Linked DNA regions of Homo sapiens: region 2 is linked to region 1. The links are contacts of gene promoters, found by promoter capture Hi-C in blood cells and fetal thymus (Javierre and others, 2016). All regions are on one chromosome and are shown on one strand. The core of a region is centred on a gene start or on the middle of the fragment in contact, and the rest is flanking DNA. Distances in the headings are between cores, read along the strand shown. Region 1 holds the start of TCEAL6 (transcription elongation factor A like 6). Region 2 overlaps ARMCX5-GPRASP2 (ARMCX5-GPRASP2 readthrough).

Region 1 (6,685 bases), core at 1-2,500:
TCTTCCTCGTCTGACTTTCCTTCATCATCAGGCTCTACTTCATCTTCTGGCTTTCCCTCGTTTTCCAGGTTTCCTTCATTTTTATTGTAGGGTTTTTCCATGTCGAGATTTCTCTTTTTCCTGTCCTGGGGGATGACAGTGGAGGGAAGAGGAGACAAATAAGAGACATGGGAGACTGAGGGCATGGGGTGGAATGCAGGTCTGGATACTACTTGCATCTCACCCCTGGTGAGGGTTCCCCTAAGCTGGCCGGGCCTCCAAGAGGGCCTTCTGCCCAGCACGTAGCCCACCACTCCTCCCACACACGTGAGCCAGCCATACCCTGGCAGGCCCTGCCACCTTCTCTGAACTGATTCAGCCTGGTAAGGTGTGTGTTCACGTGGGTGGGGTTATGTGCAGGGGTCCCAATTTGGCCTTGGCCGGGCCCTCCACACTCTCAACCCTTGTGGGCCCCTGTCCATGCAGCCCCCTGCTTTCACGGACCTGCGGGGAGTCTGGACAGGTTGCTCTTCCTTTGCAGGCCTCCAAGAGCGCTGGGAACAACAGACGCGCAGACCTGCGGACAGACAGGAGACAGGGGTAGGGGCTGCGCGCTCAGCGGGCTCACAGGGACTCCGTTCCCTTTTCTGAGTCTAGGCCCTGCTCACCCAATGTTTTCCTCCCCTACCTCCCCCGCACCCCAGCCGCCATTTCTTTCCAGGCCTCGGGCACCAAACCAGGATGCTTCCAAACTGCGTTTGCCTCTTTGTGCCCCTTCCCCCGGAGGCAACCTGTCTCAGCGCCACCCCGTTTTTGCGGAGGTCAGATGTTTCCATGGGAGCGGATTGTGAGAGGGGGTTATTTCCAGAATAAGTCTGTGTTTCACTGTCGCACTGCGGGGTCGCTACCCCCAGCCCCCCATTTCCAGCACTAAAATGGATGGAGGGCTCAGTGCAAGGGGCGTCGAGAAGGCGAGCCAGGTTCGCTTCGGGGTGCTCCCTCCCCTGCCCCCGCCCCGGCCCGCTCAGCATCCCCCTCCTCCCCAATCTACCGGATCCCTTCTCCGCCCCCTCCCCAATCCTACTGCCAGCCCCCTCCACCCCTGTCCCAGGGTCCGCCGGCAGCGCACGCCTTCACACTGACCTGCGGGGACCCAGGACAGGCCTGTGCCTCCTGCGGCTCGCTGAAGCCCGCTCGCTGCTCCCCCGCCGCCTGGGCAGCTCAGACAGCTGATTCTGCGCGGGCGCCTGGACCGGACCGCTGGGCGGGCGGGCGGGCGCGGGGGCTGGTGCCCACGTAGGCGCCTGGTCACTCACGTGAGCACCGCGTCACGGGAGCTAGGCCACCACCACCCCCTTCCCGCCCACCTCACCATCCATCCCCGAGGGACCAGGAGGTTGCGGAAGGTGGGAGAGGGTGTGTGTAACAAAGGAGTGGGGGTCATCAAGAAGAAGAGGAGGAGGGGGTGGCTTTCTGATCTCAGGTGCTTTACCTGACGCAGCTCACAGCATCCTCGCAAGGCATCTCTCTCTGATGCCCATTATCGCCAGGTGTGACAGCTGATCAGAGAGGGTACCCGACTTTGCCAAGAGCGCTTAGCCCCAGAACTCCACAGCCCACTTTCAATACCGGCTCTGCCTGACTCCAGAGCCCGGGGGGTAGTGGTGCCTGCCAGGAAGCTGAGCTGCCACCTTGAGTGGCGGTGTTCCTGGGGTTCTGTCCTGGGCCTCCTCTCTCCTCAGTCCTCAAGTTGTCTCTCCCTGTGTGATCTCATTCATTTCCAGTAAACACCGATGACTCCCAGATCTACAGCTCCAGGCTGTTCCCTTCTCCGTGTCTCATATCAGCTTTGCCAACTGTTTATTGGACATCACCGCCTGAGTATCCCTGAGGGACACGGTATGTAAAAACCCTGTACCACAAATTGATTTCAAAAGCCCATGTACCCCAAATTGATTTACCAACTTCCTTCTTATAATCTCCATTGGCCTTTCTCCACACTTGAAAGTTACCTTCCAACAGTTGACCAGTTTTCATAGAAAGAGAATGTCAGACAGCTAGAAAGGAAAGCATTCAAACGTTTTTAATATGAACTGCAGATCCACAAATTCATCATAACCCTTGGTTCACAACATGCTCTTCTCATTGACTACTCTTCTCTCCCCTGCTTTCCCTTCTTTTCCCCCACTGTTTACTTTCGTTCCATTGTTTTTCTCTTTCACATTTGTGAAACCACCACTAAACCCAAAGAACTAGAAAATTGCTAATAACTGTTTACTTTCCTTCCATTGTTTTTCTCTTTCACATTTGTGAAACCACCACTGAACCCAAAGAACTAGAAAATTTTTAATATTCTTGTCACTACAGTGTAGTGTCATATATTTGGGTTTTGACAAGATACTTATAACATGTTTTTGTTTGGATCTCTTTCAGATTATCCTGTTTGGAGTGTATTGAACTTCTTGGATACATCGATTAGTGTCTTTCCTCAAGTTTGAGTAATTTGCAGTCATTTTTCCTTTGAAAATTCTTTCTTCTCTATTCTGTTTCTCTCCTTGTTGAACCCCCATCATGCATAGGTGTGCTCTGTTCATTTTTCACATTACTTTTATTTTTCTGCTCCTCGGACTGAATAATCTCAATTGACCTATTTTAAGTTCACTGATTCTTTTGCCTGCCCAAACCTACTGTTGTACCCCTCTAGTGACTTTTAGTTATTGTACTTTTCAAATAAAGAATTTCTATTTATTTTATAATTTCTACATCTCTTTGTATTTTTACATCTTTACTGATATTGTGTATTTGCTGAGACATTCTTCTCTTTTTCTTTAGTCCTTTGTTTACGATTTCCTTTAGTTCTTCGAGCATATATAAGACAGTTGATTAAAAATATTTTCTAGATATTCTAATACACGGGCTTTTTCATGATAGTATCTAATTATTTCTTTCCTGTGTATGGGCTATGTTTTCTTATTTCCTTATATGCCTCACAAAGTTTTGTTGAAATCTGTATATTTTGATTCTAATATGTTGACTCTGGAAATTAGATTTTCCCTCTTCCTTGGGTTTTGTTGTTACTCTCTCGTGGGTTATTGTTTACTTAGTGACTTTTTAAAGTATTTTAGCAAATTATGTATTCTTTGTCATGTGTGGCCACTGAAGTCTGTGTTTTATTAGCTTATTAATCAGCTGGTGTTTGGATGCCGTTACTCTAAGTACCTAAAGCCAACAAAAGAAAAACAATAAATAAAAAAATAATTTCCTGGCCTGGCGCGGTGGCTCACACCTGTAATCCCAGCACTTGGGGAGGCCGAGGCAGGTGGATCGCCTGGGCTCAGGAGTTCAAGACCACCCAGGGCAACATGGTGAAACCCCGTCTCTACTAAAAATACAAAAAAATTTACCAGGTGTGGTGGCGCACGTCTCTAGTCCCAGCTACTTGGGAGGCTGAGACAGGAGAATCACTTGAGCCCCAGAGGCGAAGGTTGCAGTGAGCGGATATCATGCCACTGTACTCCAGCTTGGGCTAGAGAGTGAGGCTCCATCTCAAAAACAAAACAAAACAAAACAAATTTCCCAGTCTTTGCAGATGAACTCTGAGTTGGAGTACCTTTTTAATGCTTTGCATTTTTCTTATGCAGAGCCTGAAGCTCAAATTCAATGAAGTTGAATGCTTGCATTTTCTCTGGTCTTTTCTGAGTATGTGTCCCACCCTTGGCATACACATGGCCTTCTTGATTTTCCAGTATATATAAAGGGTTTTTTAAAATGCTTGTTCTTCCACATATCTTGTTTCCCTAACTCTTCCTTCTCAGGCTTCTCGGTCTGTTCATTGCTTATTCTGAGTGTTGTCCTTTGCTCCAGACTTCTTTGGTCAATACCTGTGATTTTAAATGCTTCTGGCAAAAGCCAACTGGAGAGCCAATGCAGCCCAAGCCCTGGGAGTCCTCCCAGTCTGGTGTAATGAAAGAAGCCTTAGTGATGAAAGTGCTGCCAGGCAGGCTGATAGCCATACCACACTTCTATGAGAATACGGTCCAAATTCCTACCACTGGTACTAGCTATCTAAACCAGGATAGTGGGCTATCATCAACAGATCACTGCTAATCTGGGGCATAGAGAATGGTAGATAGGCAATTGAAAATTTCTTTCTTACCACAAATTAGCAGCTTTTATTCTTCACCAAATTTTCCTCTCATTGTTATAATTTTTTGACTGGATTCCAGAGTTCTGAGAAAGCTGATGGTAGCAGTTTTTGCCAGCTCACTAATTGCTCATTATGGAGTTCCGGAGTTCCATACACTACCATTTTTAATGATGTTACTTGTGTTTCTATTTCTTTTTAAGTCAATTGGGTAGGTTGTGTCTTTTTTGGAATTCATCCCATTCATCTACCTTGTCTCATTTTTTTGTCATGCAGTTGTTAATAGTATTACCTTATAATCTTTTTTTATATATCTGTAGAGTTGCTAATGATGACCCCTCTTTTATTCCTGATTTTAATAGTTTCAGTCTTCATCATTTTTTATTGGTGAGTGTAGCTAAAGTTTTGTCAGGTTTTATATATATTTTCAAAGAACAAACTTTTAGTTTCATTGATGTTCTATTCTGTAATTCATTTATTTCCACTCTAGTGGTTACTATTCCCTTCCTTCTGATTTCTTTGATTTAAGTTGCTCTTCTTTCTGTAGCTTTTTAAGATGAAAGTTTACTGATATGGGATTTTCATCTTTTCAAAGTAAACATTTACTGTTACACATTTCCATCTAAATGCTGCTTAACTATATCCCATAACTTTTGATGTGTTGTGGGGTTTTTTTTTGTTTTTAAAGTATTTTCCAATTTCTCTCATGATATTTCAGGTTGAATTGAAGTACATTGTTTAATTTCCACATATTTGCAGGGTTTTTGAATTTCTTTATGTTGTTGATTACAAATTTAATTCCATTATGATCATGGAATATTATTTTTATAATTTCAATACTTTTAAGTGTATATAGGATTTTATTATTTATTATGTAGTCTTTCCAGGAAAATGTTCCATGGGTGCTTGACAAGAATGTGTATGCTTATGCTGTTTGGAGTGTTCTATACATGTCTGTTATTCCAGTTGGTTTTGTAGTTTTGTTTAAGTCTTCTGTTTCCTTGTTGATATTCTTATTTGTTTCATTTATTTTTGAATGTGTGGTTTTGAAGTCTCCAATTACTATTGTTAAATTATCTTGATTCTCTTCTAATTTTTTCCTTCTATTCTGTAAGTTTTTGCTTTATGTATTTTGGAAATCTGTTTTATGTTCATATATGTTTATAATTTTTGTATAGTCCTGAAGGATAGGACTTGTTATATAACACGTTTTTATTCTACGATAACATTTTTTGTCTTAATGTCTTTTTCATCTGACTCTTTTGGTTATTCTTTGCATAGTATATATTTTCCATCCTTTCACATTAATTTTATTTGCTTATTTAAATATATTCTCTTTTAGATAGTGTATAGTTGTATCATGCTTTTTTTTTTTTACCCATTCTGCTACTTTCTGCCTTTTGACTGAAGTGTTTAATCAACTTATATTTAATGCAATAATGATAAGGTGATATTTACATTTGCTGTTTTGCTATTTGTTTTCCATTTGTTGTGTGTTTTTGTTCCTCTATTTCTCCATTATTGAATTACTTTTAAAAGGATATTTTTTTGGCCTACCATTTTAATTCTCCTTTTTCTTGTACAAAGTTTTTGAATAATTTTCTTGTGTAGTTGGCCTAGGGATTAAAATTAGTATATTAATTTAAAACAAGTGAATTTGTATCAATAATTTTAATGGGATGCAAAACTATCTCCATTTCCTCTTTCCTCCTTTGTGATTTAGGAAGAGTGTCATAGAAATTACATCTTAGCCATTATATCTGTTTTGTAATTATTGTTTTATCAAGTTTTCTTTCTAATCTAATAAGAGAAAAATGAGTTACAGACAAATATACGTTTATAACTATTTGTATTTATTTCCTATTGTTGCTGTAACAATTACCACAAACTTAGTGGCTTAAAATAGGAAAAACTTATTCTCTTACAATGCTAGAAGTAAGAAATTAAAATGCCTTCATGGGGTTTTAACCAGAGTCAGCAGGTATCCACTGCCTTATTTTTTTCAACTTCTGGAGCTGAATTTCTTGTATTCCTTGGCTTACGTCCCCTTCATTCATCTTAAAAGCCAGCAGCATAGTATCTTCAAATGTCTCTCTGCTTCCATCATCACATACCTTTCTTTCTCCTTTGTGTCAAATTTCCCTGTGTCTCCTTATAAGAACACTTGTGATTGCATTTAGGGCCCACCTAGATAATTCAGGATAATTAAGACACTTAATAACATCTCAAGATACCTAATAACATCTTCAAAGTCTCTTTTTGGCATAAAAAGTAACATTCACAGGTTCCAGGGGTTTGGACATGCATAACTTTTGGAAACCCACTATTCTGTCTACCACACTGTCTTTTATATTTACCTATTTAGTTACCTTACTAGTGTTCTTTATTTCTTCATGTGGATTCATGTTACCATTTAGTGTTTTCTAATTTCAGCATGAAAGACTCATTGGTATTTATTGTAGGACAGTGCTGCTGATTAAAAATTACTCACTGTTTGTTATTTGAGAGTGTCTTAATTTATCCTTAAAGTTTTAAGGAGAGTTTCCAGACTAAGAAGTGTTA
Region 2 (6,685 bases), core at 2,628-5,127, 760 kb after region 1:
TACTTCTAGCAATGTATGAGAATTCCTATTTCCCCACAGAGTAAGAGGAATGCTGAGGGGAGGAGAACATCATGTGAGAAGTTCATGAAAGCCATCTCACTAAATCAGGAGAATTAGATATTTGGATAGGAGTCCTACTCCTGTGCTTGTCTTTGACAATTCAGTCTCTACTCTTTTCAGTCTTTTGTGGATCTGGGTCCACATCCCTCAAATGGGAGAGGCAGTCTTGCATAAAGCAGAAACTCCATGTCAGCTAGAAGACCAAATGGGAGGGACTTCTCTCCTAGGGAAAAGACAAGCACAAAACCAGAAATCCACAACTCTGATATAGTGAAGGGCTAAAAGAGAAAGTAAGCATGTAGTCCCTTACTCATGAGGAGAACCAAGGATGAAACCAACACAAGGGTGACCTTATCCTTACTCTCTATCTGCGAACTGAATAGAAAGCTGCAAGAGTTTGTGTGTGTATAATTGTTGTGAAGAAGACTGAGATACAAACAACATGCAGATACCCACACTGAAACATACAAACACACTGTCAAATAAATAGTTTTGACCTACTTGTCTTACGCATAAAACAGTATAATGTGAACATGTTTCCAAAGCAATGAATATAAGAGCATCATATTTGTAATTTCACAACTTTTTGTTTTCCACATTTTGTACAATAAGGTTTCTAAATTTAAAACACTAGAGAATTGCACATTTATAAAATAAAAGAATCCTGTCTCCCTACAATGTGCACACACTGATTTATGAAATAGAATTTTTTAATGTACTATTTTCACACAGCAGCATATGAACATGATTCTTAATAAATGCATTTCTACACTATAATTTTGTGACTAGGGTCACAGAGTTTTCTGATTTACAGAACAGAATCTCAATAACTTTATCACATTATCAGTTAATTATTTTCATTGTTTAAGCTTTATCAAATATAATCGAAATGTATATTACATATTAAAAATATTTTCTATCTGTCACACCTTCTCCTTCTCCATAATACAAAGATAGTTTCTCTTAATTTATTGGTATGTACTCTTCGGATGTTTTTCTCTGCATGTAGTATACTAACTTACTTTTATTGACACACACACCTCTAAATCCATGTTAATCTATCTATATAAATTATTTTACATAAATCCATGCACTACATTATAATTTATGACTTAACTGGTTGACTAAATATGATTCTGTTTCATATTTTTTGTTTTGGTGTATTCCCAAGTGTTGGAATTTATATCATTTTTCTGAGATTTATATATTGTCTCTTGATATGATTGGCTTACTTCTCTTGTTCATGAATATTTCATATTTGGAGGATATAAAGCATGATTGAATATGGGTTAGAAATAATTTCTCCCAAATTTTTATATTTCTTTTTATTTTCTATTTTGGCTATACAGATACAATTCTATACTTTATAATTTTTTACTATTTAAAAAGCACTTCAGCACATTGTTTTCGAAAGAACAACTCAACAATAATAATGCTTTAAGGCTGGGTGCAGTGGCTCACACCTGTAATCCCAGCACTTTGGGGGGCCGACATGGGCAGATCACTTGAGGTCAGGAGTTTGAGACTAGCCTGGCCAACATCAGGAAACCCCATCTCTATTAAAAATACAAAAAATTATCTGGGCTTGGTGATGCACACCTGTAGTCCCAGCTACTCAGGAGGCTGAGGCAGGAGAATCGCTTGAACCTGGGAGGAAGAGGCTGCAATAAGCCAAGATCATGCCACTGCACTCCAGCCTGGGTGACAGAGCAAGACTCCATCTCAAAAAAAAAAAAAAAAAAATATATATATATATATATATATGCTTGAAGTTATATCAAATGTTAGCTGACAGGACAGAAGGGAAAAAATGTTTTGAATAATTCTAGGTTTAGAATCCTGGAACAATAGTTTATAAGGTAGTTTCCCTAGATCAAGTTACCAGTCTTTTAATTTGTGTTCCCTGATCCAACTAATGGGCATAATTATTGGTACTGGATAGAATTGTTGAAATCAAAATGAGATGAAATATAAAATACCCTTTATATAGTAGTTGTGTACCTGTTAATAGACTACCATCCAGGTTCCCTTTCCAAAGGGCCACAGCTTGGTCTAGTTCAACATCTCAGAGATCAGCCAGTCCATGTACATACAGAAGATACTTTATCTTCCATTTAGTAGTGTAACTTGCTTATTTAACTGTAGTGGGTAGAATTGTGTCCCCCTCAAAACATGTCCCAATCCTAACCCACACAAACTTTATTTGGAAATAGGTTCTATGTAGACATAATGAAGTGAAAGATCTCCAGAAGGGAATATCCTGAATGTAGGTTGATGCCTAACTCCAATGACTGGTATCTATATAAAAGAAAGCAGAGGGAGATTTGACACATCCAGGGAAGAAGGCCATGTGAATATTGAGGCAGAGATTGAGTTATGCCACCTCAAATCAAATAAAGCAGGAGCCACAAGAAGCTGGAAGAGCTAAGAAAGGATTCTCCCCTAAAGGCTTTGGAGGCAGTGCAGTCCTGCCTACACCTTGATTTTGTACTTCAGGCTTTGGTTTTGTACATCGGAATCATGGCATAATAAATTGCTGTTGTTTAAATATGCAAAGTTTATGATAATTTGTTATGGTGGCCCTAGGAAACTATTACATGTACAAACATCATACCCCAAATGTCATTGATTATGAATAAACATTGGTCAATACCCTAATTTTTTTTCATGGCTACAGGGATACGAATGCCAGTAAGACATGTGAAAAGTATTTAAAAGTGCCAACATTTCGTAGGTACTATATGCTTTTAATGTATTGGATCATTCAGTGCCCAGAACACACTTATGAGTTAAATACTATTGCAGAATTCAATTTTACAAATGGAAAACTGAGGGACAGAGAGGATAATGACTTTGCCTAAGACTGAACAGTTAAGGAGTGGGACAGCTTGGACTTATGTCCAGTGCATCATGCTCTAGAGCCTGGGAAACTGTGAAAGCTCTGTTGTTAGGTGAAAGAAGCAGTCTGCAAGCATACATACTTTAGGAGCTCATTAAAAGTAATATGCCCTATGTTAGTGTATTTATACAAAACCTGGACCTAGTAAGAAATGGGTGGATTATGACTTTGGAGAGAATGTTCATGGCAATCCCAGAGACAGAAGCCATAGGGCAGTGGGATGATGAGTGGGAAGTGAAAAATGTTAACAGAGCATGTAGAAAACTCTTTTTGGTACTTCGAATATGAAGGAGAAGAAGGATAAGGGAGGGAGAGACAGAGACAGGGAGAACTGTATCCTGTAGCTGAATGGGTGATAAGGGGGTCCAAGGAGAGATTTTTTTTTTAAATCTTCAATTTCTTGAAACTTGACCAAGTTAAAAGCTAATGTGAAAAAAAAGCTATCTCAGAATTAACCCTTGAAGTTGACCACATGTTTATTTCCCTTATGCTTTTATATCACATTGGAGCTCATGAGATACCTCTGATGGAATAGAATGGGTTTGAGCTCAATAGGTATTTAGTTATTACCTAATGAAAGAATAGACATTGTGTGTGAAGAAATGCTAGTAACTCTTGGATTTTTGTCTCTCAGGGAGGCAGCAGATGGCTGAAATTCTGATCCGATGTGGCTGGTTAATGCATGATCTGAAAACCCCTGCACTGGTGATTTTGGGACAGATCTAGAATATACCAATAAATATATTAACATACCAAGTAGTCTAGGAGCAGCCACTGGGCGAACACCAAACCTTGCATCCCTGCTGCTGTCTCTGAGCTCAGCAGGTAAGTTCAAAGACATGCCTGTCTTCCCAGTGTGGGGAACTAAATTTGGGTCATCTCAGAAGCATGATGTTGGGCAGCTCTTACGAGCTTCTGATAACACCCACGAAGCAGAGAAACTACTGTCTACAAAACTTTGAACTCAAGGCATGTCACAGGGACATTTGCTTTCTTCAAATAGATGTCTGTGTTCTCATAAGGGGGAGCAATGAGAAATGATTTTTCACAATGCCTGCCTTAGCACTGAGGCTCAGCCAGCCCCTAGTGCTGTGTCCCATTTAAAGGCCATTTAAGTCCCACCCCATGCCATATACTCTCAAGAGGTTTCCTCATATACCCATCAGACAGCTATGTAAGGATGGTATGGTCAGTCCCATTTCACAGATGACTAACCTCAGGCTCACAGAGCCTAAGTCACCTCTTCAGGTAAGTGGCAGGGTTTGAATGAAATTCCATCCCTCACCCTCCCTAGAGTACCCTGAGCAGCCTCCCTTTTAGAAGATGGGTTTCTGGGCTTGAGAAATGGTGAGATTTCACCCACCTGCTATTGTAACCCCATGAGTCTTTACTCAACAACTTTTCTGGGTGAAGATGACAGAGGTGAGATCCCATTCTTTGTGCCAAGAGACCTGTGTGTAGGGACACATGAGTTGGCTGATGCCTGAAGTGGTGAGTGGGCTCAGGCAGAAACTCAAGTGTTGTACTTGAGACAGGTGAGCATATATATGTGTGTGTATATATATATGAGTTTATTAAGTATTAACTTACACAGTCACAGGGTCCCACAATAGGCTGTCTGCAAGCTGAGGAACAAGGAGAGTCAGTCCGAGTCCCAAAACTGAAGAACTTTGAGTCCAATGTTTGAGGGCAGGAAGCATCCAGCACGGGAGAAAGATGTAGGCTGGGAGGCTAGGCCCGTCTCTCTTTTTCACATTTTTCTGCCTGCTTTATATTTGCTGGAAGCTGATTAGATTGTGCCCACCAGATTAAGGGTGGATCTGCCTTTCCCAGCCCACTGACTCAAATGTTAATCTCTTTTGGCAACACCCACACAGACACAACCGGGATTAATACTTTGTATCCTTCAATCCAATCAAGTTTACACTCAGTGTTAACCATCGCAACTCCTTTAGGCAAATGCACTCTGTATTTCATCTTCTTTAATGTCAACAGCTATTCAAGTTACCCACAAGAATACCCACTGAATTATGACCATTATTCAGATCAGGGTACTTTAGGCAAGTTTCTGTACATCAGGGAAATACCTTTGTTGTGTCTCGATTAGCAGGTAATTCTGAATTATTCTAAAGTTTTCTCCAGTTTGTCTCTGTGCCTCCTGGTCTCGGGAATGATCTAATCTCCTTGGGCACTGCCATTACATGTTCCAAGGCAGTTTAACATTTTTTTAAAAATTGTGATCCATGTGGTTTTAAGTCAGAAGATAATTTAAATTGAAAAATTCTAAATTAAAAAAAACTAAGAATAGCGTAAAAACTCTGGAAAAATCCGTACAAACTAGAGCTGAGATACTGGATTAGAATTCATGCTTTGTGAAGCACACTAACAAAGAGCTTGGCAAATAATTTCAGTGGAGAAGTCAAATAGTTAGATACATGAACAATAAACACATTAACTATGCCAAAACCACAAAAACTAATAAGATGTAAATATAAATCCTGAGAAGAAAAGTGGAAAAAATAGGTTGCAAAAGAAGATAAGGATGTGATTCGACCTTTGGAACAGACTGTGTGTGTGTAGGTGAACATATTTGTGTGCATCTCACTTGTGGAGACACATTTCACAGTATGCACCATTCTGTGGACAGCAGACAACTAGGGGTCAGGGATTAGGAGCTGCTCCAGTGAGAGATACAGGTTAATTTCAATTCATATATGTGTTTTTATATATTGTTTTACATTTTATATTCAGGAAAAAGTATTTTGATGAAATATTAAAAACAATATGCTGTGAACATATTGACAAGAGTATGGTACACATATATTCCTTACTTCAGGCATTCATTTATTCAATTTCCTGGGGAAATAAAGTAGATTTTTAAAAAATGAATTGACTCACACGCAAGTGTGTGTGTGTGTGTGTTCTAGCTCCTCTAGCTCTACCACCTCAAATACAGTTCACAATTGCAGCATTATCCCCAGTTCAGACTGATGCTGTACTTCCAATATCAGATTTAGATATCCCCGAAAACGTACTTTTTTATAACCCAGAAAAATGATGGATACAGAGGGATTCCTGTAGGTACGTAAAAAATTCCAGAAAACTGGCTGATCACATTAATCAACCTCCCAACCTCCATCCCTCCCTTTCCCCTGCTGAACTCACCAGTCAGCTCTCAGAGTTGCAATCCTGGCTCTGGCCACTAGGAGACATCGCAGCCATCTTCACATTTGTTCTTTTTTAAGGAAAAGGAGTACATCTAACAAACAGTAACAGATGTTATAACATGGTTTGTTCACTGAAATACCAGTTGTTTGGAGTATTCGCGTGTATATTAAAGCAGTTCCATTTGCTGTCGTCCCCAAATCTACATCGCATTCATTGATTCATCTCTTCCCTTCTCTGTTGGTAGAGGTTTCCACATTGTAGGAGGGTCCCTTCCAGAGAGCAGGGCGTTCGTTCACTCTCCATTACCCCACCCCTGTATAGGCTTCCTGGTCCTTCTACCACTGCCTCCCACTCATCCCCTCTCCAGGGGCACAGCTGCCCAGACCTGCCCCTTGTGCCGTCATCCTCTCTCAGTCACCTCTCACCTGCCCTGATGCTCACTTAAGATTCTGTCTTCCAGCAACAGCCAAGGAGTGTTAGACCTACCTGGTGTTTCATCCTATGGATGCCCCACAGTATATGTATTTGCAGTCTTCTTTTACACTTACCAGTTTTTTT

The links. Contacts are between HindIII fragments. The CHiCAGO score rates a contact against its expected background, and 5 or more counts as called.
Region 2: a contact is called between a fragment that was not itself captured here and the fragment with the promoter of TCEAL6 in region 1, in 5 of 17 cell types (total CD8 T cells, naive CD4 T cells, total CD4 T cells and 2 more). The highest score is 7.0, in total CD8 T cells.

What each region holds. Positions count from the first base shown.
Region 1 is chrX:102,141,231-102,147,915 of GRCh38, forward strand. It overlaps TCEAL6 (transcription elongation factor A like 6), which reads right to left and starts at 1,251. Exons shown (of 3, transcript NM_001006938.3): 1 at 1,123-1,251; 2 at 484-556; 3 at 1-125. The coding sequence starts at 101. It overlaps LOC105373299 (a long non-coding RNA gene), which reads left to right and starts at 498. Exons shown (of 3, transcript XR_007068283.1): 1 at 498-579; 2 at 1,764-1,878; 3 at 2,413-2,735. The HindIII fragment of the contact is 10,164 bases long and covers 1-6,685 here.
Region 2 is chrX:102,893,981-102,900,665 of GRCh38, forward strand. ARMCX5-GPRASP2 (ARMCX5-GPRASP2 readthrough) reads left to right here. Exons shown (of 19, transcript NR_146584.3): 15 at 3,594-3,784. LINC00630 (long intergenic non-protein coding RNA 630) reads left to right here. Exons shown (of 12, transcript NR_146589.1): 6 at 3,594-3,784. Among named protein-coding and RNA genes, the nearest start is that of RAB40AL, 40 kb to the right of the region's middle. The HindIII fragment of the contact is 5,900 bases long and covers 928-6,685 here.